7 separate regions of the Homo sapiens genome follow, and regions 2, 3, 4, 5, 6 and 7 are each linked to region 1. The links are contacts of gene promoters, found by promoter capture Hi-C in blood cells and fetal thymus (Javierre and others, 2016). All regions are on one chromosome and are shown on one strand. The core of a region is centred on a gene start or on the middle of the fragment in contact, and the rest is flanking DNA. Distances in the headings are between cores, read along the strand shown.

Evidence for each region. The method cuts DNA at HindIII sites, captures the fragments that hold promoters and counts their contacts. A CHiCAGO score of 5 or more calls a contact.
Region 2: a fragment that was not itself captured here is called in contact with the fragment with the promoter of FAM120C in region 1 in 1 of 17 cell types (total CD8 T cells); the score reaches 5.5 in total CD8 T cells.
Region 3: a contact is called between a fragment that was not itself captured here and the fragment with the promoter of FAM120C in region 1, in 3 of 17 cell types (fetal thymus, monocytes and non-activated CD4 T cells). The highest score is 5.8, in fetal thymus.
Region 4: a fragment that was not itself captured here is called in contact with the fragment with the promoter of FAM120C in region 1 in 3 of 17 cell types (monocytes, fetal thymus and total B cells); the score reaches 6.8 in monocytes.
Region 5: a fragment that was not itself captured here is called in contact with the fragment with the promoter of FAM120C in region 1 in 2 of 17 cell types (fetal thymus and naive B cells); the score reaches 6.0 in fetal thymus.
Region 6: a contact is called between a fragment that was not itself captured here and the fragment with the promoter of FAM120C in region 1, in 1 of 17 cell types (fetal thymus). The highest score is 6.6, in fetal thymus.
Region 7: the fragment with the promoter of HSD17B10 here is called in contact with the fragment with the promoter of FAM120C in region 1 in 8 of 17 cell types (non-activated CD4 T cells, fetal thymus, naive B cells and 5 more); the score reaches 8.3 in non-activated CD4 T cells.

What each region holds. Positions count from the first base shown.
Region 1 is chrX:54,180,857-54,185,133 of GRCh38, forward strand. It overlaps FAM120C (family with sequence similarity 120 member C), which reads right to left and starts at 2,398. Exons shown (of 16, transcript NM_017848.6): 1 at 1,644-2,398. The coding sequence starts at 2,342. RefSeq lists silencers at 1,891-1,940, 1,951-2,160, 2,731-2,830. The HindIII fragment of the contact is 3,156 bases long and covers 775-3,930 here.
Region 2 is chrX:55,164,165-55,168,441 of GRCh38, forward strand. No RefSeq gene overlaps it. Among named protein-coding and RNA genes, the nearest start is that of VCF2, 5.1 kb to the left of the region's middle. The HindIII fragment of the contact is 3,574 bases long and covers 1-3,517 here.
Region 3 is chrX:53,220,844-53,225,000 of GRCh38, forward strand. It overlaps KDM5C (lysine demethylase 5C), which reads right to left. Exons shown (of 26, transcript NM_004187.5): 1 at 3,897-4,157; 2 at 1-73. The coding sequence starts at 4,046. Among named protein-coding and RNA genes, the nearest start is that of KDM5C, 2.3 kb to the right of the region's middle. RefSeq lists an enhancer at 3,906-4,005. The HindIII fragment of the contact is 2,841 bases long and covers 1-2,671 here.
Region 4 is chrX:55,059,813-55,064,089 of GRCh38, forward strand. It overlaps a transcript of PAGE2B not described here. Among named protein-coding and RNA genes, the nearest start is that of PAGE2B, 13 kb to the right of the region's middle. The HindIII fragment of the contact is 1,880 bases long and covers 897-2,776 here.
Region 5 is chrX:54,983,988-54,988,264 of GRCh38, forward strand. All of the region lies in intron 1 of PFKFB1 (6-phosphofructo-2-kinase/fructose-2,6-biphosphatase 1), which reads right to left. Among named protein-coding and RNA genes, the nearest start is that of PFKFB1, 8.1 kb to the right of the region's middle. The HindIII fragment of the contact is 2,160 bases long and covers 645-2,804 here.
Region 6 is chrX:54,922,810-54,925,480 of GRCh38, forward strand. TRO (trophinin) reads left to right here. Exons shown (of 13, transcript NM_001039705.3): 3 at 1-959; 4 at 1,642-1,746; 5 at 1,861-1,924; 6 at 2,180-2,259. Among named protein-coding and RNA genes, the nearest start is that of SNORA11G, 3.2 kb to the right of the region's middle. The HindIII fragment of the contact is 1,962 bases long and covers 335-2,296 here.
Region 7 is chrX:53,432,658-53,436,934 of GRCh38, forward strand. It overlaps HSD17B10 (hydroxysteroid 17-beta dehydrogenase 10), which reads right to left and starts at 1,713. Exons shown (of 6, transcript NM_004493.3): 1 at 1,662-1,713; 2 at 1,065-1,229. The coding sequence starts at 1,688. The HindIII fragment of the contact is 11,572 bases long and covers 1-3,008 here.

The DNA of each region.
Region 1 (4,277 bases), core at 1,148-3,647:
TATTCCATCAATGTGGTCACTATTGCCAGCAACCAGGTTAATAACAACGAGGTTAAAAAGTCCTTAAAAGCCTGGGTGGTAGCAGTGAAAACAAAGTGGAAAGAATGGCCATGAATAAAGAATCTACCTTAAAATGTTCAGTCAGAAGAGCAAGCAAATGTGTGCCTTTTTTTTTTTTTTTAACCTTGTATGAGATAGCTCACGTTTGGATTAGTTTAAATTAAAACAACTATAATCTAGGCACTCTAGGCACAGATTTGATGCTGAGAACGAGTCTAGCATGACTGGACTCTAGCCACAAGCTCTATAACCACTGCAAGCTTCTCTGTTTAGGTCTTTTAGTCTCTGAGCTAAAATTTCTTTCCTCCTCATTACTCCAGCCGACACCACTTCTTAAGTGATTCCCACAATCCCCTGTTCTGTCTAACTGTAAGGACAACCCCCAAGAACCTTGGTTGGGGAAATAGGTTTGCGGTTTCTTTCTACCCAACCCTGTACTACTTTTCTTTTTCTTCTTCCTGCCCACCTCCTTTACTTCCCAAGCCTTGCTATTCTCTACACGTAGGAACTTGAAACCTAAGAGTATGGGAAAGCAACAGAGCAGCAGCAGTGGTGCCAAGAACTGGGGATGCTGCCAAGCTGTTCCCCAGGCCCCATATGCAGTGACCCAACTACATGCAGATTGGACTTAACTGCCTATGGGGCCTTGCACACTTAATATTCCTTTTTGCTTCTGCTCATTTTCTTCCTCCCACTTAAAGCAGCCTCCTCCCAAGCTTGTGACTCATTCAAATCCAATCCACCTTTGAAGACCCAGGTGAGGTCCGACTTCTTCAGGGAAGCCTCCCCTGACCACTTTAGTCCAAAGATATCCCACCACTCCCACATACAGAAAACAGGAACTGTACTTACTGTCTGGACCATAAGGCATAATCACATACACATTGCTATAATTAAATGTTTCATGTGTATACATTTAACTTTCCAAGGGCATGAGCAGTGTCTCACATGTCTTTAAAACCCTTACACTCAGTGAGTTAATACTTGCTGAACAGTGACTGAATCAGTGGGTTTTTATGTGTTTAGGCTAAGGCAGGAGGAAGAAGATGCATGTTGAAATGAAAAAGGCTGAATGGACACAGATGGGTAAAAAAGCAGCAGTGGGTGAAGACGGAAAAACAATGTAGAAGAAAGGTGTTCAGTTCACACCTGCTTAAGTGATTTACTGCGAGGTTGGAAAGAGATACAGGAGAGAGATGTCAACTGGCAAAAGCAGGGTAAAGGCATTTCAGTTTGAGGCAGAAGACACCAGGAGAAAGATGAGGCTACAAAAGAAATTCTGACTAGATTCTGCTGAAACCTAGTGGTAGGCCAATTGGATAAGGGAAGCTAAAGGGAGCTACTGGGATGACATGAGTAGAGATATGGCCATGTAGGTGAGTGAATCCGTAGGGGGTGGTATGAAGGGGGAGGTAAATGGATAAAATGGTAGAGGGTAGTTAGGCAGGTAGGTTAGCTGTTGGGCGGGTAGGTGGGTGGGTAGATGGGAGGTAGGGTAGTGGGTAAGTGGGTAGGTGGTTAGGTATTTAGTTGGGAGGGAATAGGTGTGGGGCTTATTATTTAAGATCCGGCCCCTCCCTCACCTTGACCCGGAAGCGGATGAGTGCTAGCCTCACGCAGTGGCTCAGGCAGGCCGGTGGCAGGAACCAGGCCCGCGGTGGAGGGGTGCCCTTGTTGCCCACGTGTCCCACGATCAGTTGCGCTGTCTGCCGCTCGGCCTGGCACCGACGGCCCCACTCGGCCAGCCGGTCCTTGCCCAGGCCCCCCGGGAACATGACCACGAGCTCCAGGCCGTCGCCGCCAGGATAGGCACAAGCCTGGCACAGCGCTGACAAGTAGCCCAGCATGGCGTTCCATTGGCCGCCACACACCCAATCCGTCTGGTAGCCGCCATAGAGCCGCGGCAGCGCCGAGCCGGCGTCCACCAGCACCCGGGCCCCGGGCAGCTGAGGGGGCGGCGGCGGCGGCAGCGGAGGGTGCAGCCCGGGCTGCGCTTGGCCATGATGGTGGAAGTGGTGAGCGGGGTGATGGTGCCGAGTCGGCCCCGCGCCCCCGGAGTAGGCACCCAAGGCAGCGGGCGGAAGCGGCGGTTGCAGAGGCACGGAGCCCCTGGCGGCGCGTGGAGCCCCGGGCGCTAGGGCTGCAGTCGGCGGCAGCTGGCGGTGCAAGTGCTGCTGCTGCTGCTGGCGCGAGACCGTGCGCGCGAGTTTTAGGAGGTCCACGGGCACCACGGCCCCGGGACAGCGCTTCTCCAGGAACTCTTGGAAGCCCTGGACACCCATGCTTCGTCGGTGGGCAGACGCGATAGCGGCTGCGCAAGCAGGATAGGCGACGATCTGGGCGCGAAGCTGGGGGCGGGCGCGTGCGCACTCCGCGGGGGGCGAGGGGGGGCGGGAAAAGGATTCCCGAGGGGAGGGGTGAGGAAGCGAGGGAATGAGGGCGGGGAGGGGAGGAGACCACAAATTGGATTTGGGTAGAGAGAAGGGGAGGGGCAGACCGGACCCGGGAGAGGCTGGGAGGATAAAAGCGAGGATGGGCTCTAGTCACTTCTCTTTTTTCTCCTTTCCGGCCGCTCTTCTTCCCGCTTTAGAAGGGGTGAAGCCTCTTTCTTCCACCTCCGGGAGCCATGTTGCCTCGTCTTCTCGGTGGTACACGCTTTCTAGCTGGAGGAAGGGGAGCGAGGAGGGGCGGGGCGGGGCGGGGAGAGGGGCATCTTGGTAGTTGTAGTCTTCTCTATGGCCTTAGGATATAGTCGAGGAACCAGACTACCACCCTTCTCAGCCCTTGTGCTCACAGGGTCACAGGAAGCGGGGCGTGATGATGAGTGTTTAGGAGTTGCACTCCAACTCCTTGCATCTCACTGAGTTGCTTAGGTTATTTACTGCTTTTTCCTGGAAAAAGAGTTTTGGGGGATGGATTGATGCATCATGGGAATGGAAGTTAGAGTGGATTGACTGAATTCAGCTAAAGTGAGCTAAAACTCCCCAGGAGGGAGGATTTTCCCCTTAGTGGAAAGATAATATTTAAAGAGCTGTTGGTCCCAATTAAGAAAGACGTAACTGGTCGGGCGCGGTGGCTCACGCCTGTAATCCCTCCGAGGCGGGCAGATCACGAGGTTAGGAGATCGAGACCATCCTGGCCAACATGGTGAAACCCCGTCTCTACTAAAAATACAAAAAGTAGCCGGGCGTGGTGGCACGTGCCTGTAATCCCAGCTACTGGGGAAGCTGAGGCAGGAGAATCGCTTGAACCTGGGAGGCGGAGGTTGCAGTGAGCCAAAATCATGTCACCGTACTCCAGCCTGGTGACAGAGCCAGACTCCGTCTCAAAAATAAATAAATAAATAAAAAGAAACTTACATTATTTACTTGCCTAAGGCAATGCAGAGACAAAGTTAAATCGAATATCCTTGCCCTCAGCATCTCTTTGGGCAGGGAGATAATTACCAACACAAATTACATTACAAATTGTACCTTTTTGGTACTCCTAGATCCACTATGTCCTATGGTTAGGGCCTTTGGTTTCCAAACTTCATTGTGTTTTAGTCTGTCGGGAGCTTTTCTAAATAGCTGCAAGGGCTCTAATTTCAGATGTATGGAGTCATAATCTTTTGAAAAATGTATTTTCAACATACTGAGATGAAACAGATGCAGTGCCTGTCTTCTTTCTGGCTTTTAGGGCCGGCCCACTCTTTCAGCAGGAATAAAGCAGAAAACAAGATCTGAAATGAGTAGTAGCCAGATCTGGCTTGGAACTTACTGGAAGATGGGAGATAATGGCAGGCAGAGTTAGAATGCAGAAGTGCAGAACCCAAGAGTGATCGGGATGAATGAGATAGGGGAATACTCTATTAGGATGCAAAAGCAAAAAAGCTTCAAGCTACATAAAAGAAATTATAAAATAGTGGAGATGGAACAAGCCAGATTGTCAAAGAATAAGTAGATGGCAAGGCAGTGTACATAGTTAACTCTTGAAAGCAAGCAGTGAAAGGAGAGAGCAGTGGCTTGAAGGGATGAAGGATGGAAGGAATGGAGGTTTTTTAGTATAATGGACACGTGTGGGACGGTCTGCCCAGCCCCTCTTTTCCGGGAATTGACCCTCCACCTTCCCCCATTTATAGGGTTATGGCAAAAACTGTCGTGTTCCTATAACCATAGCTTATTGGGTCAGAGGTGGGCAGCTAATCCAACCTGGGGCAATCAAAATCTCATTTTCTA
Region 2 (4,277 bases), core at 481-2,980, 980 kb after region 1:
GGAGCAAGAGAGAGAGAGAGTTGGAGGAGGGGAGGGAGGCGCCACACACTTTTAAATGACCAGATCTCATGATTATTATGTAATGTCCGATTTTGTCCCTTGTAATAATCTCCACTATAAAGAGTGCTTTGTGAGGTATTAATTTGACACCTTGAGTTTTTATGTGGTTCATGTTTGCAGGGTATATCTTCTTCCATCCTTTACTTGTAACTTGTTTATTTTTAAAGTGAGGTTCTCTTTTTCCCAAGATACAGATTAGCGATAAATATATTGTGAAAATCAAGATCTTCTTGCAGCCGTGAAACGGTAACAGTAAAAACACCAAAAAATCAGATGTAGAAGTTAATATGGAACTGAAGTGTTATGCAGAAATCCACAGAATAATTTGTTAGGTTCCTCAAAAGAACCTCAATCAAATTTACTGACAGCCTTTATAGAAAGATAACTTGAAACTAAAGTGATACATTTATATGAAAAATATTACTTTATCACCCCATTTTCTGCAGTAGGCTTTTAGATGAAATTTCATTTCACAAAAGTGTTCTGTTGCTAAAAATATTTTGAAAATGGCTGTATAGGATAATGTTTCAGAGGTCTCTCAGCTTAGAAATTTTGGGATTCAAATATCCTTCTCTACATTGAATGGAAAAAGTGAAAAGAGAACAATATCATGGGGGAGGGAAATGTTGGTCTACTGTATTTTTCTTTTCTTTTTCTTCCTAAACTAACCGGTCTGTGTTGGTTCTCAGCTGTGCTGTTAATCCAGGTAAAAGATGCCCTTCAGGAGAATACATGGATTCATTGGGCCCCAGGGAAGTTTTGAATTGCTCAGAAACAACAGCCAGAATAACTTTTGAAAGGCTGTAAATGGAGATGATTGAGATCTTCTGATATGGTTTGGTGGTGTCCCCACCCTGTGGAAGGGACTCGGTGGGAGGTGATTGAATCATGGGGGCAGGTCTTTCCCATGCTGTTCTCACGATAGAGAGTGGGTCTCACAAGATCTGATGGTTCTATAAGGGGGAGTTTCCCTGTACAACCTCCCTCCCTTTGTCTGTTGCCATCCGTGTAAGACGTGACTTGCTCCTCCTTGCCTTCCACCATGATTGTGAGGCCTCCCCAGCCATGTGGAACTGTGAGTTCTCCATTAAACCTCTTTTTGTTTTTTTTCTTTTTTGTAAATTTCCCAGTCTCAGGTTTGTCTTTATCAGCATCATGAGAACAGACTAATACATCCTCTGATTTATGTTACTTCTCACTCAAGTTGCTCAAAGTGCCTTCTCATCAAGAGCTGTTTGGGTAGAGACAGACACATTTGTTCAGCCCTATTTTTCTCTGTTTTCTTCTCCTCCTTCCTTCCTCTTTCCCTCCCTCCCTCCCTCCCTTCCTTCTTCCTTTCTTCCTTCTTTGTACAAAAAATAAGTGAATTTATTTCTTCTCAGTAGAAATATCAGAATATTTCATAAATTTTGTGAGTTTTTTTGAAACTTTTATTTTGGGTTGAGGAGTACATGTGCAGGTTTGTAATACAGGTAAATGCGTGTCACAGGGTTTTGTTGTACAGATAATTTTGACACTCAGGTATTAAGCCTAGCGTCCATCAGTTATTTTTCCATATCCTCTCCCTCCTCCTACCCTCCACCCTCTGATGGGCCCCAGTGTGTTGGTCCTTGCTATGTGTCCATGTGTTCTGATCATTTAGCTCCCACTTATAAGTGAGTAAATGTGGCATTTGGTTTTCTGTTCCTACATTAGTTTGCTAATGATAATCACCTCCAACTCCATCCATGTTGCTGCAAAGGTCATGATGTCTCTCTTTTTCTTATAGACGCATAGTATTCCATGGTGTATATGTACCACATTGTCTTTATCCAGTCTACTATTGACAGGCATTTAGGTTGATTCTGTCTTTTTTATTGTGAATAGTGCTTCAATGAACATACTTGTGCATGTGTCTTTATATACCTAGTAATGGGATTCTGGGTCAAATGGCAGTTCTGCTTTTAGCTTTTTGAGGAATTGCCACACTCCTTTCCACAGTGGCTGAAATAATTTACACTTCCACCAATAGTGTATAAGCATTGCCTTTTCTCCATAAACTCACCAGCATCTGTTATTTTTGTTCTTGATTTTTTTATTTAGCCTTATACTGTTTGACTATTTTTTTATTTGAGACAGGGTCTCATCTGTCTGTGAACGTGGATTCTACTTATGTCAGAGACTTCTAGGGATTCCAGCTCTCTCAGCTGCCTACGTTTGAACTTTATGAATTTATTACATTTCAGTTGTTTCCTTCTTACCCACTTTTATGACTGTCACTTCTTGCACACATGTTCTGCCAGAGGTAACACAGTTTGTGTGTGTCATCTCTCCTCAGAGGGGCTTGTCATCCTCTTGTATCAGTTCCCATGGCTGCCTTATTACCTCAGCTCTCTCATGATCTAAAAAAAAATGATAATATAGGTTATTAGGCTTTTTCTCATTTTCAGGGCTAAAGTGACTTTCTCTTGAGCCTTTCTAAATATTATGTGGAGGTAGAGCTCTCCTTTGTTAATATTTTGACTACTGGTACAAAAATGCAGCATTCAAATATTTGAATTAAAAGATAATCCAGGGGATAGCTGACTATGGCTTGGTAGCTAAATCCAGCCCATGGCTCATTTTTGCATAGCCTTTAAGATAAGGACTTTTTTTTTTTTACATTTTAAACTCTTATTTTTAAAAAACACAACAATATGCCACATAATCTATGTGGCCCACAAAGACTAAAATATTTATTGCCAAGCCTGTTAAAGAAAAATTCATGACCCTGTATTAATCTAATATCTACCATTCTGCATCACATTAAGAAATACATTTTCATCCATTATTTAATTTATTTACTCGCAGATTGAAAAGTGTGGATTATTTTCTGATCTTACCCTATCCCCTTAAGAAAGCATCCAGCTTTACCAAACCATGTTTTCAGTCTGAGAAACTTGTCCCAGGGCTTAAATGATACAGAAACATATATCTGAGGTAGGAGACTGGCAGGACTTGTTTCTGGTCATAACCCTGCTGACTAAAACAGAATCTGATTCAGACAGAATAAAGTGGATAAACTGGCAGAAACCAGCAGATGGCCACAAGGGTGATCCCTGGTTGCCCTTATTGCTTATTAGCATGAGACACTCCCACCAGCACCATCGCAGTTTACAAATGCCATGGCAATGACCTGGAAGTTACAACAGCTTCCCATGGCAATGGCCTGGAAGTTACCCCCTTTCATAGAAAGTTCTAAATATCTCGCCCCTCAACTTGCATTAACCTGCCCTTAATGTACATATAATTGAAAGTGGGTATAAGTCAATAGAAATGCGTTTGCAAAGACCCCATAAGTTGGTGACTCTGAGTGTAGTGCCTATGAGTTAGCCCTGCTCTGCAAGGAGGAGTTCCATTCAATAAAAGATTGCTGTCTGACACTACCAGCTCACACTTGAAATCTCTCCTGGGCAAAGCCAAGAGCCCTCTCAGGCTAAGCTTCAATTTTGGGGCTGGCCTATCCTGCATCAGTTTCAAAGGGAGAATTTTTCCAAGTATTCCATGATTGTGTATTTCTCAAGGTCATTTAAAAAAATGTCAATATCTCAGAATCTTTCATTCTATGTCTTGGTCAATGTATCATTTATGTAAGCATGATGGTGACATATACCTCAAGTGTAACGTCTGTTAGTCTGATTATAAATGCAGTAGAATTATTGCCCAGTAAGATGTAACATCAAATATGCATATTTAATTGCATTGGACTCCTCCGAGTACTTACAGGAAAGTTGGTAAGAATAAATATTCATGCTTGAAAATATTTTGGAATATGTGTAAAACGGATCAAATCCGAATACCACAGATGGCACTGTCACTAGATGCTAATGAAGTACATAATAGGAACCATAAGAGACAGTCAATAATAAAGGGGGGAAATGAAAGGGAACACATCAAAGCACCATCAGATGAGTGCAGAAGCACACACATGAACACACCCTGTAGCTGCAGAAACACATGGTAGGAACTAAAGCCCCACCACTAATCAGACTTTTTCTCACCAACTCAGGAGTTCGCAAATGAGTTTGCTAAGGGTCAAATGCCCACAATAAAACTGACCAATTTAAACATCACTGAGAGCTACTTAGAGCATTATGTAGAAAGCTACAGACAACAGTGAATTTATTCTGAGCAAGTCTTAATCCATCATCTTCACAGATGGCTAAAGAAAGGGCCTCTAAACATTTTGTCTCATAATC
Region 3 (4,157 bases), core at 1-2,500, 960 kb before region 1:
GCTCATTCAGCCTCTGGATTCGGGGGGTAAACCTGAAGTTGTCCACTTCCACAGCAAAGGGTGGCTGCCAGTCCTGAGAGGGTAGAGAGGGGAAAGGGACTTGAGTTATCTCAGCATAGTGTAAGACCGGAAGTCACCAAAAGCAGCTCGGAATCCCACTGGCACCTTCCCAAACCTCTAGCCACTCCAGACCCTTTAACCTGCAAACATCCTACCCAACCACCCACCCCCACCTCCCCCCAGAACTCACAAGAGTCTAGCAGCCCCTCAAGTCTGCACCCAAGGCCCCATGCACATGCCCTAGGAAACTTCTCCTGAGTCCCACCCAACAGTACAGTGCCAGGATTTCAAGAAATTAAGAGATGGAGCCTCTGTTTTGTTGACCCTAAACCTTCTCCACACCCACATTAATTCCTTATCCCCTAGGCACGTGCTGTAGGACACACAGGCCTGGGAGTACTGGAAAGCACACAGGATCTAGAGTCAGAAGATATGGGTTCATGTTCTAGATCCGCTACTTACTAGCTATGAGATTTTAGCTTTCTGAACCTGTTTTCTCATCTGTGAGGTGGGAATATGAACTCTAGCCCTGGCTTCCTTGCCAGACCAATATGGAAAATTAAAACTAGTTTTCAAATGAAAATGTTATTCAAAGGAGTCACCGTTATGACCTGACATCTAAGGCTGACCACACCTCACAATACACATGCAGGGTAGCTCAGGTCCGATTGTGGCAGGACGTAAAGGTTTGGGCCTTTAATGTTTGTTCTCTCAGTTTAAAGGGCCTGAGATAGACACTGCAGGGAAGAGCAAGGAACAGGGAGCAAGTATGTGTATCACTCACCCAGTCTGGAAGGCTTCCTGTAGATCCTCTCTCATACACCTGCCTGGTACAGGAAGAGGCAGGGGAGGAAGCCCCAGGGGGTGGGGGTAAGTGCTGGGATGCCTGACTGTGGTGGCAAAGAATGGGAGGATTTGGGGAGGGAAGTCAGGGAAAGATCATGAAAGTGGGAGACACTCTGCTCTGCCAAGTTGGAGCTTGCTGTGTCCTGCCCAAAGGTCAGCTGTGAAGAACCCCCTCTCCAACACCCCTTTCCAACCTCCTATGCAGACCTCTCCTTCCCAGAGCCCTGGCTCCTGCTGGGGTGGTGAAATCAACCTAAAGTAACCTAAACCAATGTTCTCATTTTATAAATGGGGAAAGTGAGGCTCAGAGAAAAAAAGTGAAATTTCCAAAATTACATGCTGAGTTAGTGGTGGGGCCAAGAACCCACGTCTTCTGACCTCTGATCCAAGGCCTTTGCACTACACCAGACATCAATGTTCATACATACATGCATACACGTGGGCGGGGGGGAGAGACAGTGAAAGAGAAGAAAAACTGTTGACCTCTTCTGCACACACACTTTTAGAAAATGGGCTAGAGGACTCATATTTTGCATGCATACACAGACCACACTCCCCTGCCCCTACCAGCCAAAGCAGGTGGCAAACATCTGGGGCTCAGTAAGCAGGGACAAAAAAAAAAAAAAACAGGCAGGCCAAAATGGTATGGCTCAAATCCAGACAAGCTCCCCATGCCCTCTTGCCTCTCATCAGGATAGGGCACTCCCCTCAGCACAGGTAACCCAGCTAAAAAGGTGCTCAAACCCAAAACTCCGGGCACCCTTCTTTCCTGCTGAATCAAGTTCTAGACAATCAGTGCAACATCAAGCACCTGACAGGAAATGGCAGCCCTGGAATGCTACGGCAGGAGCCATGGATGCAACAGATACCTGGGAAGGCCCTGCAAACCGCCTGCCTTCATCTCCAGACTACTGTATGCCAAATGTATGTTGGTATTACTGGGATGTGGTGATAAAAAAAAGGCTGGCTACCTGATGAAGAAAGCAAGATCCTTCCAAACTCCACTGGGTCTACTCAGGGTACCCACACTCTCCTCCCACCCATCTTTCCCAAGCGTAGCAGTCACCTGCCCAGCAATTCAGGCCCCAAACCATCCTTCCTCCAGCAAACCTCCAATTCCCAGGTACCCACCCATATACAGGTTCCCACCCTGGGCCCAAGCATCACTTGAGCGAGTACTTCAAACTTCAACCAGAAGAAGGCCAGCTGCCTAAAGGTGGCCTAGGAGCTGCCATAGAGAAGGAAAAAACAAAACCAAACCAGAGAGCCAGGTATCCTGGATTAGAGAGAAGCACACTGTTGAGCAGTGAAAAGGACGGCCTCCTGCTGGCCATGCACACCTGGGACATGTCACTCTTCCCCTTCCTGATGCCCCAAAGCAGGGTAACAACACCTACACAAGGCCAGCCTGCCTAAGTCAGTCCAAGATAGAAAAAAGGAATTCAGGCCTCAACTACCCCCTACGTCAGCTATGCCTCTTTTTCCCACAGGCTTGCCCAACCACTTCAGGGAGTGCCTCCTTGAGGCTGCCCAGGACTCCTGCCTCTCCCTTCCACTAGCCTTCCTGACCCTCTACCCACTGCCACTCCCTCACCATGGACAAGGATACCTCAGAAATCTGTGGCCAGACTCCAAGAAGGAAGAAATTCGCTTACCCAACACCTCCTAGAGGATCTATCTGAAACCATCCTAGATCTGTGGCTGAGCACCAGAAAGCACCAAGTTGGATAAGGAGGCCTGTGGTGCCCTCCTCAGGTGGGAATGAAGCTTCCTATTCCATTTCAGCCAGGAGACACCCACTCAAAAACACCCTTTTCCAGCAAAGCTCAATTTCTGCCCTTGGAATCCCAACTGATCACTGAACATTATCATCACTTTTCCACCATATCAGCAAGGCAGCAGCTTGCCCTAGCCCTTGGGAGACTTCTAGCCTGAAGCCAGGCCTAGGAGGAAAGCTATGGCCTTTGTTGCTGACCCCTGGCAATCATGTTCCAAAAGGGACAGAATTCCATGGCTCCATTCTGTTCTGCGGGCCCAAGAGTGCCCTATCCTCTGGGATCTCCTACATCCTGGACCAGAGGAGAGTAGAAATCTTCTGAGAAGGACTCACACCCCACCACCAAGCTGACCGGTCCAAACATCTCCATAGGAAGTCAAGTCTGCGGGATGATGTGCAGAAAAGGCCTTGACATTGCCTTCAACGAGGAAAAGAAGAGGACAATTCCCTGAACCCACCTCAAGGGAGACAGAGCAATCCCTGTGAGACTGATTTCCTGACTGGTCCAGCAGGCCAGGATATTATCATAGATGAATTGGCCTGGCAAGGTATGAGTAAATATGAGTCAACCTACATAGGAATAAACCAATGACCACATCAAACACCCTCACAGTCACAATAATTACCACTTATCTAGTGCGTACTACATACAGACGCTACCTAGTTTAATTCAATCCTCTAAATAACCATTTCTGGGATCCATTTCACGGGCTCAGAGAGATTACTTCTACTTTCCCAAGGTCACACAGCTGCTCAGCTTCAAAGTGGAGTTTTGAACTCAAGTCTGTCTCCCTTCAGGACTGCGATCTTTCTATTAATACTATACTATGCTGCCTGCCTTAAAGGAAGTGATGACAACAGATTGGAGAAACGTCTTATTTTTACAGCCTCGACCTAGGTGGCCCGGGCTAAGAGATGTGCGGGGTGCCTCTCTGTGAACTCCCTCCGGCCCACTAGGAATCCCTGTCTTAAACCCGGAGTGATTCTGAAGGGCCGGGGTGGGGGTGGATCTCTGACTCCAGGTCACCTGTGGGCCTCACACCACGAGAGGACCCCTGGCCCAACACCCTTTTTCCGATCCGCGCCGCAACCACAACGGTCCCAGCCACCCCCTCTCCCCACCTCGAGCTGCCCTCCGCCCCAGACTTCGCCGCTGGCTATCCTACTGCTTCATTCCGTCTCGCCGCCGGCGAAAACCGGCCCCGGGGCTTACCGCGGGTGGGCGGATCTTGCAAATGCCCGATTTCTCTGCGATGGGCCTGATTTTCGCGATGTAGCCAAGAGGGTCTCGGAACTCGGCCCAGCTAGGCTCGAACACCGGGCACTCCGGTGGCGGTAGGAAATCGTCGGACCCCGGCTCCATGGTGGGCCCGAGGTCTGGGCCAGGGATCGGGAGGCTTGGACCGCCCTTAAGGACTCATGGCGCCGCCGCTGTTTGAAGCCGAGGCAATGCTCGGAGGCTAGGCCCTAAGCG
Region 4 (4,277 bases), core at 587-3,086, 880 kb after region 1:
CTCAGTTTCTATCAATTAGATTTTTTTAGAGTCCACATATAAATGAGATCATGCAGCATTTGCCTTTCTGTGTCTGGTTTACTTCGCTTAGCATAATGTCCTCCAGGTTTATGTGGATTGTTGCAAATGAAAGGATTTTCTTCCTTCTTAAAGCTGAATAGTATTCCATTGTGTGTGCCCGTCTCTGTGTGTGTATACTCCACATTTTCCCTATCTATTGATTCATTGATGGACACTTAGGCTGATTCCATATCTTGGCTATTGTGAATAATACTGCAATGAACATGGAAGTGCAGGTATGTCTTTGACATAGTGACTTTACTTCCTTTGGGTATATAGCTAAAAGTGAAATGGCTGAATCATACAATAACTCTATTTTTAATTTTTTGAGGAATCTCCTTACCGTTTTTCATAATAGCTGAACTGGTTTACATTCCCACTAATAGTGCTCAATATCCCCCCAACACTTGTTATCTTTTGTTTTTTAATGATGGTAGATATTCTAATGGGTGTGAGGTGATATATCATTGTGGCTTTAATTTGTGTTTCTCTGATGATTAGTGATATTGAGCACATTTTTATGTAACTGTCAGCAATTTGGATGTCTCCTTTGGAAAAATATCTATTCAGGTCCTTTGCCCATTTTTAAATCAGGTTATTTATTTTCTTGCTATTGAGTTGTCTGATTTCCTTATATATTTTGGATATTAACCCGTTATCAGATATGTAGTTTGCAAATATTTTCTCTCATTGTGCAGGTTGCATCTTCACTCGATTGTTTCTTTTTCCATGCAAAAGCTTTTTACTTTGATGCAATCCATTTGTCTATTTTTGCTTTTGTTGCCTATGCTTTTGGGGTAATATCCCAAAAATCTTTGCCAGGACAGATGCTAATAAGCTTTCCTCTATGTTTTCTTTCAGTACTTTTACAGTTTTAGGTCTTATATTTAAGTCATTAATCCATTTTGAGTTGATCTCTGGTTTTTTTTGTGTGTATTTTTTTTGTTTTAGTAAATTATATTTTCAGTAAGTTTTCAATAACCAAATTGAAAAGTGTGTCTATTTATTCCTGACTAGGCTAAGACATGTAGAAATATATCACTACTGTTCAACTGTTGGGAGTAGGGAGGCAATGAACACAAGGAAACTCAGACAGAAAAAGAAATGTAAATTAACATCTCAAAATATTATATTATTACTTTAAAATTATTTAGTAAATCACATGGTCTTCTTATTTGAAAGAGAGGAACTGTGGGATGGTAAGGGTGTACAGAGGGTAGCTGCTAGTGAAAGTCCAGTGGGCTCCAAATATTCTATAAAATCACAATATAATGTATAAGAGAAAGAAGAATAAAGGAATGAGCTACTTTATTTTCATATGATTTCTTTTAAAATAGTGATTTGTAACACCTGTTTCTCTTTTCTTATTCTTTGCAACTTCTATTTCAGGTTCAAGGGGTACATTTGTAGGTTTGTTACATGGGTAAGTTATGCGTCGTAGGGGTTGGCGTACAGATAATTTTGTCACCCAGGTAATCAGCATAGTACCTGATAGGTAGTTTTTCAATCCTCACCCTCCTCCTGCTCTCTACTCTCAAACAGACCCTAGTGTCCATTGTTCTTTTTAAATATTTTTTATTTTTAATTTTGTGAGTATATAGTAGGTATATGTATTTGTGGGTTACATGAGATATTTCGTTACAGGCATGCAAAGTGTAATAATCACATCAGGGTAAATGGGGTATCCATCACTTCAAGCATTTATCCTTTGTGTTACAAACAATCTAATTATACTCTTTTAGTTATTTTAAAATGTATGATTAAATTATTATTGACTGTAGTCACCCTGTTGTGCTAGCAAATATTAGGTCTTATTCATTCTTTCTAACTATATTTTTGCGCCCATTAACCATCCCCAGTTCCCTGCCACTTCACCACTACACTTCTTAGCCTCTGGTTACCACCCTTCTACTCTATCTCCATGAGTTCAATTATTTTAATTTTTAGCTGTCACAAATAAGTGAGACCATGTGAAGTTTGTCTTTCTGTAACTGGCTTATTTCACTTAACATAATGACCTCCAGTTCCATCCATGTTGCTGCAAATGACTGGATCTCATTCGTTTTATGGCTGAATAGTACTCCATTGTGTATAAGTACCACGTTTTCCTTATCCATTCATATGTTGATGGACACTTAGGTTGCTTCCAAATCTTGGATATTGAGAATAGTGCTGCTGTAAACATGGGAATGCACATATCTCTTCGTTATCCTGATTTTCTTTCTTTTGGGTATATACCTGGGAATAGGATTGTTGGATCGTATGGTAGCTCTATTTTTAGTTTTCTTGAGGAACCTCCAAACTGTTCTCCATAATGGTTGTACTAATTTACATAGCCACCAACAGTGCAGGGGAGTTCCCTTTTCTCCACATCCTCACTAGCATTTATCATTGCCTGACTTTCAGGTAAAAGCCATTTTAACTGGGTTGAGAAGATATCTCATTGTAGCTTTAATATGCATTTCTCTGATGATCAATTATATTGAGCATCTTTTCATATACCTGTTTGCTATTTGTATGTCTTCTTTTGAGAAATGTCCATTCAGGTCTTTTGCCCATTTTTAAATGAGACGATTAGATTTATTTCCTATAGAGTTCTTTGAGCTCCTTATGTATTCTGATTATTAATTCCTTGTCAGATGGGTAAGTTGCAAATGTTTGTCCCATTATGTGGGTTGCCGCTTCACTTTGTTGATTGTTTCCTTTGCTGTGCAGAAGCTTTTAAACTTGATGTAATTCAATTTGTCCATTTTTGCTTTGGTTGCCTGTGCTTGTGGGATATTGCTCACGAAATCTTTGTGCAGTCCAGTGTCCTAGAGAGGTTCCCCAATGTTTTCCTTTGGTGGTTTCATAGTCTGAGGTCTTATAATTTAAGTCTTTAATACATTTTGATTTGATTTTTGTATATGGTGAGAGATAGGGGTGTAGTTTCATTCTTTTGCATGTGGATATCCAGTTTTCACAGCACTATGTATTAAAGAGACTGTCCTTTCACTAGTGTATGTTCTTGAGAACTTAGTCAAAAGTGAGTTTGCTGTAGATGTGTGAATTTATCTCTGGGTTTTCTATACTGTTCCATTGGTCTGTGTGTCTGTTTTTATGCCAGTACTGTGTTGTTTTGGTTACTATAGCTCTGTAGTGTAATTTAAAGTCAGGTAATATGATTCTTCCATGTTTGTTCTTTTTGCTCAGTATAGCTTTGGCTATTCTGTGTCTTTTGTGGTTCCATATAAATTTTAGAGTTTTTTTCTATTTATATGAAGAATATCATTGGTATTTTGATAGGGATTGCATCAAATCTGTAGATTGTTTTGGGTAGTATGGACATTTAAAAATATTGATTTTCCCAATCCATTAACATTTAATTTCTTGCATCAATGTTTTATAGTTTTTATTGTAGAGATCTTTTACTTCTTTGGTTAAGCAAATTCCTAGTATTGTATTTTGTGTATATTGTAAATGGGATTACTTTTTAAAATTTCTTTTTCTGATTGTTCGCTGTTAGCATATAGAAATGCTACTGATTTTTGTATGTTGATTTTGTATCCTGAAATTTTCCTGAATTTGTTTATCAGTTTATTAGTTTTCTCGTGGAGCCTTTAGGTTTTTCCAAACATAAAATCACATCTCTGCAAACAAGGATGATTCGACTCCTTCCTTCCCCTTTTAGAGGTCCTTTATTTCTCTCTTGTCTGATTGCTCTAGGTAGGACTTCCAGTACTATGTTGAATAACAGTGGTGAAAATGAGAATCCTTGTTCCAGTTCTTAGAGGAAAGGATTTCAGTTTTTCCCCATTCAATATGATACTAGCTATGGACCTGTTGTATATAGTTTTATTATCTTGTGATATGTTCCTTCTATATCCAGTTTTTTGAGGGTTTTTATCATGAAGGGATGTTGAATTTTACCAAATGCTTTTTCAGCATCAATTGAAATGATCATATGGTTTTCGGCCTTCATTCTGTTGATATGATTTATCACATTAATTGATTTGTATATGTTGAACCATCCTTGCATCCCTGGGTTAAATCCCACTTGGTCATGATGAATGACTTTTTTTTAATGTGTTGTTGAATTTGGTTTGCTAATATTTTGTTGAGGATTTTTATATCAATATTCATCAGTGATATTGGCCTATAGTTTCCTTTTTGTGATGTGTCTTTGTCTGGTTTTGGTATCAGGGTAATATTGTCCTTGTAGAATGAGTTTAGAAGTA
Region 5 (4,277 bases), core at 475-2,974, 800 kb after region 1:
GTCCTTTGCCCACTTTTTAATAGGGTTGTTTTTTTCTTGTAAATTTGTTTAAGTTCAACTTGATAAGAAACTTCTATAAAGCAAACAAAAACTATCACCAACATTATACTTAAAAGTGAAAGACTAAATGCTTTCCCCCTAACATCAGGACTAATGTAAGGATTTCCACCTTCTCCACTCTTTTGACATAGTACTAGAAGTTCTAACCACTGCAATAAGGCAATAAAAGGAAATAAAAGGCATACGGTTTGGAAAATAATTTTTAAAAAATCCCTATTTGCAAATGTCATGATTGTCTACATAGAAATATCCCCCTAAACTACAGAAATTCCTCGAACTAACAAGTGAGTTCATCAAGGCTGCAAGATACAAGATCAACACACAAAGACAATCTTGAGACTTTCATTTCTGGCATGACAGCATGAGGAGCTCTAAAGACCCATTCTCTAATAAAACAAGCTCAGCTGGCAAAATTACAACACAACAACCTTTTAAAATCTCTGGAAATTGTCTTAATGGAATACAGTACATGAAGATATTTTTATTCAAGAAAATCTACTGAAATGTGGTAAGAACACAGTCTTTGATACATGTGCCATGCTACTGTTCCCGACCTTACTACTGTCCCCTCACTACTGGCTCCAAGCTTAGCTTGATAGAAGCTCCACTTAAGGTGTGTATAGCCAAGATGAAGCTCCCTTTCGTCTTGGAGAGAATGTCCCATCAATACTTTGGCATCTTACTGGAAGGAGCAGAGAGCTAGCATTTAGCATTCCCTTCAGCTCAGAATTGCAGAGGCTAAATTCCTGGCAAGTGTGGTTAAGAGGTTGGAGGATCCCTTCCTCCTCCCAGTTTTTACTCATAGAATGGAGGCTATATACCAGGTGCAATAGGCTAAGAATACTGAGGTCCTGATTACCCTCATTCCATCTTGCTCACAGGGTAGGTTCCACACCAGGATAGGCAAACTAAGACCAGAAGCTGCTGTCTCGCCCAGCACCCAGAACAGTGCTCAGACAGTATACCCATGGAGAGAAGAAATTCATAAGATGAGAGAGCTCTGAAACTCTCCCCCCAAAACTAACTTTATTTTTAACATAGTACAAAGAAGCTCAAGCCCAAGGATGTTCTCAAAAACTACAAGTTCACTTAACTAACAGCAACATAGGCCAGCTTGTTCATCAGAGAGAACAAGAGAGAGAGGGACAGGTAAGAAGAGCCCTTCTGGGGTATGAAGAAACCTCCAAGACTTACTTCACAAACTACTCCTGCTAGAGTTTAATTAGATAAGGCTGCTGGGCAATGCATGCTTCAGGACACTGCCAAACAAACAAACAAACAAAAAACAAAAACAAAATACAGCATTCAGCTAGTAATTAGTGGAGCCTAGAGTGTAATACCCCCATGTGGGCTGACAGCTTAATAGAGAGACTGGGAAAAAGTCAAAGAAAGCCCAAATTACCTGCAAGCCAAAAACTATGCACTCCAAGAAGCAACACTGAAGGGTTCACACTGCAGGGAAACATACTTTAAAAATAGCCTAGCCAAGTCACAAAGCAAAGAGTTATATAGAAATAAGGAAATGATACCAGAAGGTAATTCAAACCCACAGGAACAAATGAAAATAATAGAAAATAATAAATACATACATGTTCTCCTTAATTTTCTCAGCTTCCTTAAAACATAAAATTATATAAAATAATACTTATAATGATGTATTATTTAGTTTTTAGCATATACAGATATAATATATATATTATAATAGCTCAAAAAGGAAGGTGAAAGAGAGCTATATATGAGTAAAATTTTTATATCTCATTGAAATTAAATTAGTACAAATCTGAAGCACACTGATGTATGATGTATGTGAAAAGCCCTAGAACAACCACGAAGAATATACCTAAAAAATATATAATAAAAAATGATCAAATGAATTAAAAAGTTAAACTAGAATAATTCATTTAATGCAAAAGAAAGCAGTAAAGGAAGAATAGAGAGAAAAAGACATGAGCTCTATGGAAAAATAAAACTGCATATTTAAACCAACTATATCAATAATGATTTTAAATCAGAACAGATTAATCAACCCAATCAAAAGGTAGAGAATATCTAACTGAATACAAACAAACAAGATCCAACTGCATGCTGCCTACAGAAGATAGGTTTTAGACTGAAAGATACAAGGCAGGCCTGGTGGCTCACGCCTATAATCCGAGCACTTTGGGAAACCAAGGTGGGAGGATCCCTTGAGTCCAGAAGTTTGAGACCAGCCTGGGCAACATAGTGAGACTCCATCTCTATTCTAAAAAAGAAAGAAGAAAAAAGAGAAAGAAGCAAATAGATTAAAAGTAAAATAACGTAAGTAATACATCATGCAAACAACAACCACAAGAAATTTGGAGTGACCATACTAATATGAGACAAAATGGATGTTCAAAAACATTACTAGAGATATATAGGGACATTCAATAATGACAAAAGGGTCAATCCATAATGAATATATCACAAGTATAAACGTATATGCCTAAACAACAGAGCTGCCAAATACATGAAGCAAAACTGGCAGAATTGAAGGGAGAAATAGACAATCCACTGACAATAGTTGGAAACTTCAAGACCACTCTTTCAATAATGGATAGAACAACTACATAGAAGATCAACAACAGGGAAATAGAGGACTTCAACACAAAGTAGTAATAACAAACATCTGTAAAACACTCCATCTCCAAACAGCAGACTATACATTTTTCCAAAGTGTACATCAAACATGCTCCAAGAGAGACAATATTCTAGGCCATAAAAGAAGCTTCAATAAATTTGGAAGAATGGAAATCATATAAAGTATGTTCTCCAATCATAATGGAGTAAAATAAAAAATTAATAACAGAGAGAACTTTGGGAAATTCACAAATATGGGAACCTAAAGGAAACAGAAGAAGGATATAATAAGGATTAGAGGTGAAAATAATAAAACAGAGACTAGGAAAACATTAGAAAAAAATCAACAAAATCAAAAGTTGGTTATTTGAAAAAATTAATAAACTTGACAAACCTTTAGTGAGACTGACCAAGAAAAAAAAGAGAAAACTCAAATTAATAAATTCAGGAAAAAAAGAGGAGACATTACTACTGACTTTATGAAAATAAAAAGAATTATAAGGGAATATTATGAACAATCATAAACTGTATGCCAACACAATAAATGCCTTAGGTGAAATAGATAAATTATTAGAATGATACAAACTCTCAAAACTGACTAAAAAAGAAATGAAATCTAAATAGATCTATAACAAGGGGTTGAATAAGTAATGAAAAACCTTGCCAGAAAGAAAAGTCCAGGATTAGATGGTTTCACTGGTGAATTCTACAAACATTTAAAGAATAATACGATTCTTCAAAAGCTCTTTCAAAAAGTAGAAGAGGAAGAAGCACTTCCCAACTCATTCTATGAGGCCAGTATTTCCGTGCTACCAAAGTTAGGCACATATATTAGAAGAAAAGAAAATTATAGACCAATAGCTGTTGTGAATATGGATGTAAAAATCCCCACAAAACACTAGCAAACTGAACCCAGGAATGTATAAAAGGATTTATATGTATACATTATATATATGTATATATTATACTTATACTTTTTACATCACAATCAAGTTAGATTTATTATAGGAATGCAAGCTTGATTTAACCTTTGAAAATCAATTAATGCAACAGATCACATCAATAGAATTAAGGACAAAAAAACCAAATGATCATCATAATAGGCACAGATAAAGCATTTGGGAAATTAAATACCCCTTCATGATAAAACCAACAACAAATTAAAACTAGAAGGAAAGGCCCTAAACCTAATAAAAGACACCAATGAAAAACCCACAGTGAATATCACACTTAATGGTGAAAGATTGAATAGTTTCTCCCATGCCGCCTGCCAAGATCAGTAACAACAGAAGGATGTCTGTTTTCATCTCATCTTTTCAACATTCTAGTAGAGGTTATAGCCAAGGTAATTAGGTAAGAAAAAGAAAATAAAAGGCATCTGGATTGGAAAGGAAGAGATGAAATTATTTCTATTTGCAGATAACATAATCTTGTATATAGAAAATCCCAAGGAATGCACTAAAAAACACCATTGGACCTAATAAATGAGTCCAGCAATGTTGCAGAATATAAGATCAATATATAAAAATCAATTACATTTCTATAAAGTAGCCATGAGCAAACAAAATGAAATTAAGTAAAACAATTTTATTTACAATAGCATCAAAACAATAAAATGC
Region 6 (2,671 bases), core at 66-2,565, 740 kb after region 1:
ATGAGATTGCCACCAACAAGCCCAAAATAACTTGGCAGGCTTTAAACCTGCCAGTCATTACCCAGATCAGCCAGGCTTTACCTACCACTGAGGTAACCAATACTCAGGCTTCTTCAGTCACTGCTCAGCCTAAGAAAGCCAACAAGATGAAGAGAGTTACTGCCAAGGCAGCCCAAGGCTCCCAATCCCCAACTGGCCATGAGGGTGGCACTATACAGCTGAAGTCACCCTTGCAGGTCCTAAAGCTACCAGTCATCTCACAGAATATTCACGCTCCAATTGCCAATGAGTCAGCCAGTTCCCAAGCCTTGATAACCTCTATCAAGCCTAAGAAAGCTTCCAAGGCTAAGAAGGCTGCAAATAAGGCCATAGCTAGTGCCACCGAGGTCTCGCTGGCTGCAACTGCCACCCATACAGCTACCACCCAAGGCCAAATTACCAATGAGACAGCCAGTATCCACACCACAGCAGCCTCCATCCGAACCAAGAAAGCCTCCAAAGCCAGGAAGACAATTGCTAAGGTCATAAATACTGACACTGAGCATATAGAGGCTCTAAATGTCACTGACGCAGCTACCAGGCAGATTGAGGCCTCAGTAGTGGCTATCAGGCCCAAAAAATCCAAGGGCAAGAAGGCTGCCAGCAGGGGCCCAAATTCTGTCTCTGAGATCTCTGAGGCCCCACTTGCCACTCAGATAGTCACAAACCAAGCCCTGGCAGCCACCCTGCGGGTCAAGAGAGGGTCTAGGGCTCGGAAGGCTGCCACTAAGGCTCGGGCAACTGAAAGCCAGACTCCAAATGCTGACCAAGGGGCCCAGGCCAAGATAGCCTCTGCTCAGACCAACGTAAGTGCCCTTGAGACTCAGGTTGCTGCTGCTGTCCAGGCCCTGGCAGATGACTATCTGGCTCAGTTGAGCCTGGAGCCCACAACCAGGACCCGGGGCAAAAGAAACCGAAAGGTGAGATCTCTGACATTGCCATCCTTAACTTTGTGCTTCTTTTCCATTTCTACCCTTCTAGTTTGTTCATTTCTTCTATAAAAGTTTTACTTTGAGCTAGTCCCTGTGTTCAGATAGGCTGTGGAAGATGCTGAGAAGAAGGTGATATAGTTTCTGCTCCCTAGCAGTTCACAGATTGGTGAGGAAATAAGACATCCATACACTCAGCTACAACCTGTATGTAATACTACTTGTATTTAAATAGTAGTTACCACGTGCCAGGCTTTGTGTTGGGTACAGTTACACAGGGTATGTCTGAATGTCTTGAAAGTAACTCTTACCAACAAGGGATCATAGGTCCCAGTTTTACACTTAAGAAAACTGAGTCTCAGAGAAATGAAGTGACTTGTCCAAGAGGTACCAGCCAGCATAATTGGTGGTAGCCAGAGGAAGAGAAAGACCCTTAGGCTCTTATCTTGAGTTGTTCCTGGCCTGGCAGAGGAACGAAACTCCTTCCTGGAAGACAGTGAAAGATAAGCTCAGGACTCAGGGTGGCCAATGGCAAGGTCAGGATCAGGCTCCACTACAGCAAGGCTGAGGGAGGGGGTTAGAGGGACTTTCTGTCTGGAGCAGGCAAGGTGAGGAGACAGAGCCATCTCTTTCACCTGGTGACTCTGGACCTTCCTTCTTTCTGATGATGAAGTCCAAGCATCTGAATGGGGATGAGAGAAGTGGCAGTAATTACAGGCGGATCCCATGGGGCCGGAGGCCTGCACCACCGCGAGATGTGGCCATTTTACAAGAAAGGGTAAGAATCCAATGCTGTCCAGTCTCTTCTCTTCTTCACTTGCCCTCTTCTCTGCCTCCTTCCAAGTTTTCTGCAAGCATGTTAAGATCTCTCCATCTATTCCTCTCCTCCCAGGCTAATAAGTTGGTGAAATACCTGTTGGTTAAGGACCAGACAAAGATCCCCATCAAACGCTCAGGTAGTGTCCTACCAACCCTCCTCCTTGAGCTCTCCTCTCCACTCCCCTCTCCTCCCATAGTCTGGGAGTAACACTTTATGGCCTCTTTGTTCTGTCATATCTCCACACCTGCCCTCCTTGCACTCTGCCATGGCTGGCATCTCCCATTAACTCACTTCAGGTCTCTGATTGCACTGACCCAACAGGACTGGCAAAAGGGCTGCAGCTCTGTGGCCCCTGCTAAGCTCAGCTACTCTCACCTCTCCTTTTCTACAGACATGCTGAGGGATGTCATCCAAGAATATGATGAATATTTCCCAGAAATCATTGAACGAGCAAGCTACACTCTGGAGAAGGTGAAGGGGCAGTGCTGGCGGATGGGCGCAATGGGGAAGCTTTGAATCGAGCAAAGACATACATGTCCCTTTTGGAGAGAATCACAGAAACATGCTAATCCAGCCCCATTACTGTGTGAATGGGCAGACAGTGGCCTAGGGAGAGGTGTAGATTTGCCATGGGTCACACAGCATGTCAGTGATGAAAACATGGCTAGGACAGAAGCCACTCAAATTAGTCTCAGCTTCTATTCATAGTTGGACATATTCTGCATGTATTTCAGATCTCACCTCTCCCTTGTATCCCCATTTTCTGTCTCCCTAGATTCCTGCTCATCACAAAGATGATGTTGATGACAATAGTACATTTGCTGTGTGTTTACTGGGTGCCAGGCACTTGGCTATGTGCTTTATGTGCATTATCTCACTGACT
Region 7 (4,277 bases), core at 463-2,962, 750 kb before region 1:
TGGCCAACGTGGTGAAAACCCGTCTCTACTAAAAATACAAAATTAGCCGGCATAGTGACACATGCCTGTAATCCCAGCTACTTGGAAGGCTGAGGCAGAAGAATCGCTTGAACCCGGGAGGCAGAGGTTGCAGTGAGCTGAGATCGTGCCATTGCACTGCAGCCTGGGCAACAGTGAGACTCTGTCCCAAAAAAAAAAATTGAGAGAGTAGGTCAAAGGTGAAAATATTAGGTAATATAGAGCAGTGTTGCAAAAACATTTTTCAAATCAATACCTTCTTGATAAATTCACATGCTCCTGAAGATTCTTAATTGCTGTGGATCAGAGCACTAATGCAACCCTGTTGTGAGGCTGGGTGCAGTGGCTCACACCTGTAATCCCAGCACTTTGGGAGGCCGAGGCGGGCGGATCACGTGAGATCAGGAGTTCAAGACCAGCCCGGCCAACATGGTGAAACCCCATCTCTTCTAAAAATACAAAAAAAAAAATTAGCTGGGCGTGGTGGCAGGTGCCTGTAATCCCAGCTACTTGGGAGGTTGAGGCAGGAAAATCGCTTGAACCCAGAAGATGGAGGTTGCAAGGAGCTGAGATTGTGCCACTGCACTCCAGCCTGGGCAACAGAGCGAGACTCCATCTCAAAAATAAAAATAAAAAATAACCCTCTTGTGAGAATTATTGATAGGAAGATAAACTAGCTTTTTTGTATCCTTACCTGCTAAGATGATTTCATCAAGTTTCACTTTCTGTAGTTTGTTTCATGAAAACAAGTTTTTTGACTTTGTAAATATAAAATTACAAGGCACAAAATGCATTTTCAAACCATACATAACTCCTCCAGGAGATTGTTACGTCCAATCCCCATCCTCATTGTTGTGAATCCCAGCTTTAGAGAATCCTTATCACAGGTGGTCCCACAGTGCTTGAAGGCTCAGGCCAAAAGAGACAAGGAGATGGGTCTACCGCCCCCATAGAGGAGACCCTTATGGGAGGGACCCCCACAGGTTCCCAGGCCGGTGTTGGTGACCTCATGCACACCCTGGGAGAGGAGAGGTGACCCCACTTACGTCGGCTGGGGCGAAAACGCAGTTGTTTCCTAACTTCTTGGCTTGGGCCTCCCCACCCGAGTTGGGCAGGTCCAGAAGCACAGCAGAGGCTCCCTGCCCCACAAGTCGCTCCGCCGTGGCCAGGCCCAGGCCCGAGGCTCCTCCGGTTATTACCGCCACCAGGCCCTGTCAAAAGGGACATGGTCAGGGTCAGCTGTTACATTGCCCAGACCATCCCCACGCTGTCGCCTGCCTGTTCTCCAGGCTTCTGAGGAGAAGGGGGGAGGGGAGAGGTCGTGGTCACCCCTGCGGGTAAACTAGGTGTGCTGCTTCTCCTCAGCGTTGGGACCTCGGGGGCAGAAGGGATCTCATCCCCAGACAGCCCGTCCCGTGACGATAGATAGATAGATGATTGATAGATAGATAGATAGACAGACAGACAGACAGACAGATGCGCCGCGGAGTGCTGACTTTCACCTCTTGAGCCCAACGGCCACAATACCAGGCCTACATAAGCATGACCCTTTCCCTCGAAACCGATCTCTTTCTCCTAGTTCCACGGCCGCGCTGTCCCGGCCCGTAAAGGAAGGCAAGCAACAGAGGCAAAGAACCTTCTACCTTCACGCTCCGACACGCTGCTGCCATCTTGTCGCCGGCCACTCCACGGGATGGGGATGGGGGCGCGGGCGCTCGTTGATTGGCCGAGGCGAAGCGGCGGAAGGGGCGGATGCGACGGGCCGGGGCGTCTGCCGCTGCCGCATGAGACGTGGGGGCGTGGCCTGGTACGCTAGTCCTTTGGCCAGAGGGCGGATTCCGCCTGCTAAGGTATCCCCAGAGTTATTTCAACTGGGGAAAGAGACCAATAGCAGAAGTACAATACCACAACACCCCTCGCCCTACTCTCTAGCTGGCCTTTTGGCAAGTGGCCTGCTCCGCGTGGGGGAAGAGGGGTGGATATTGAGAACGGATGCCTTTCTCCTCTGAAAAAGTCTTAATTCAAGTATGAATGTATTTGAGACTCCTATATGCTAGACGGTGTGCGGGGCACCTGGGATACCCAGCGGAATAATAAAAGATTCATGCCTTCCAGGAGGGCACAGTCCAGGTGGAGAAAGAGAATTACAGTACAGACACAGACGAATGGACGGAACCAGATTCTGGGACACTCAGACAAGGAGATCCAAAGATGAGGAGTCTGAGTTAGAGAGAGAGAGAGCCATGTAAAGAGAAATATGTTGAGGCCGAGATAGGAAGAGAGATGCCAGGTAGGATCACAGAGAGATGAATGTGGAAAGCCGCTAAGAGAGATGCTTGGAGACAGACATTCTAGGACAGCTGCTGAGAAGCACAAACCTAAAGAGGCAAAAACATCTTTCATCAGTTCAGGCTTTGCTACTCTCCTCTATCTTTGTCTAATTTAAGTCCAAAAGCCCAGATCACACACTGCAGATTGGACTTCAACCAGAGACTATTATTTAAGACCCAGGTCTTTGTCATCCTAGAACATCTTTCAGGCAGCTTCCAGAAGCTATGTCATTAGAGTCTTGAGCCCAGATATCTAATCTGTCTTCCTTCTATACTTTTCCTCAAACCAAGGTCTTCAGGCCATAAATCTTAGCCCACCATTTCAGCCTCAGAACTGCTTTATGTTTTCTCTATCTGAAATATCTCCCCCCACTTGCTTTCTCACCCAGGAAGATTCCCCTCCAGGCCTTCTAGTTGTTGACAGCCACCACACTCATAATCACTACACCGTATTTACCAAAGGATTTAGCACACCGGTCTCACAATTTTCCTATCTACATGAAGTGCTTCCATCAATTTATAGCACTCTTCATCCGGCCCAATATGCTGTAGCCACAGTGGCCTCCTTTGTGTTCATCTTTGCATTAGCTGCTCCCTCTGCTTGGAATGCTCTCCCCTGATCTTTGCATGACTGCTTTTATTTTTTTTCATTCAGAACTAAGCTTAAATATCACCTTCCCAGAGGGGTCCTCCCTAAATATTCAAACTGTAGCCACCTAGACACTATCCCATTGCATATTTGAATTATCTTCATAGCACTTGCATGTCCGTAATCCATTTTCCAACCTTAGGGCCAGATGTGCTGTGGAATTCAGAGTTTTTTTCAATTTGAGAAAGGAAGACATGTAATTTATATTACATAACTCTTTAAAAAAACTAGTCAAACATAACTTTTTGTATAGTCTATATTATATAACTATTGAGAAAAGCCTGGAGCATCGTAATGAAATATTAATATTTCTGAAGTGAAAGGTATGAAAATTCACACCAAGTGTGAATAAAGACTATAAATAGCCTCACACTACTTCAGGTCAGGTTTTGTCATCTATTGAGTTTGGGCTCCAAAGTATGAAAAAACAACCTTATGCTTTTCAGAAGTTTTGGCATTGCAGGATTGTGCCTACAGGCTTGTGAGCCTGCATGCTCCGCTAACCTGGCCTTGTTTGTGTAGTTCTCCCCCTGCTGGAAGGTAAGCCCCATGGCACCAGGGGCTTGTCCAGCTGGTTCACCTAATGCCGAGAACACTGCTTGGCGTGTACAAGACACTTAAAACAAATGTGTGAAATAAATGAATTAATGAATTAATCTTGGAAGAATTTCCAGGCACAGTTTCATGATTCTTTCACCTGCCCAACTCCGGGAACCTTCACCTCCTCTCTACTTTAACCACCTGTCCAGGCCACCTTATTGCACTTGTCATTCCCTGGAATAACCTCCTGCCCTCCCCAGCATCTACACACCATCTTTTCTCTCTCTGACCATGTTCTCGAGTTGTCTTGGATCTCTTCCCCTCTACCGCTTTTTTTTTTTTTTTTGAGATGGAGTCTCCCGCTGCCCAGGCTGGAGTGCAGTGGCGCATCTTGGCTCACTGCAACCTCCGCTTCCTGGGTGCAAGCAATTCTCCTGCCTCAGCTTCCAGAGTAGCTGAAATTACAGGCATGGGCCACCACGCCTGGCTAATTTTTGTATTTTTAGTAGAGATGGGATTTTACCATGTTGGCCAGTCTGGTGTTGAACTCCTGACCTCAGGTGATCCGCCCTGCCTCAGCCTCCCAAAGTGTTGGGATTACAGGCATGAGCCATCGCGCCCAGCCTCAGCTCTATTATTTACTAGCCGAATGACCCTGGACAAGTTACTTAACTGATGTGCCTCAGTTTCCTCTTCTGTAAAATGAGTATAAACAAATGACTATTCGTAGGGTTGTTAGG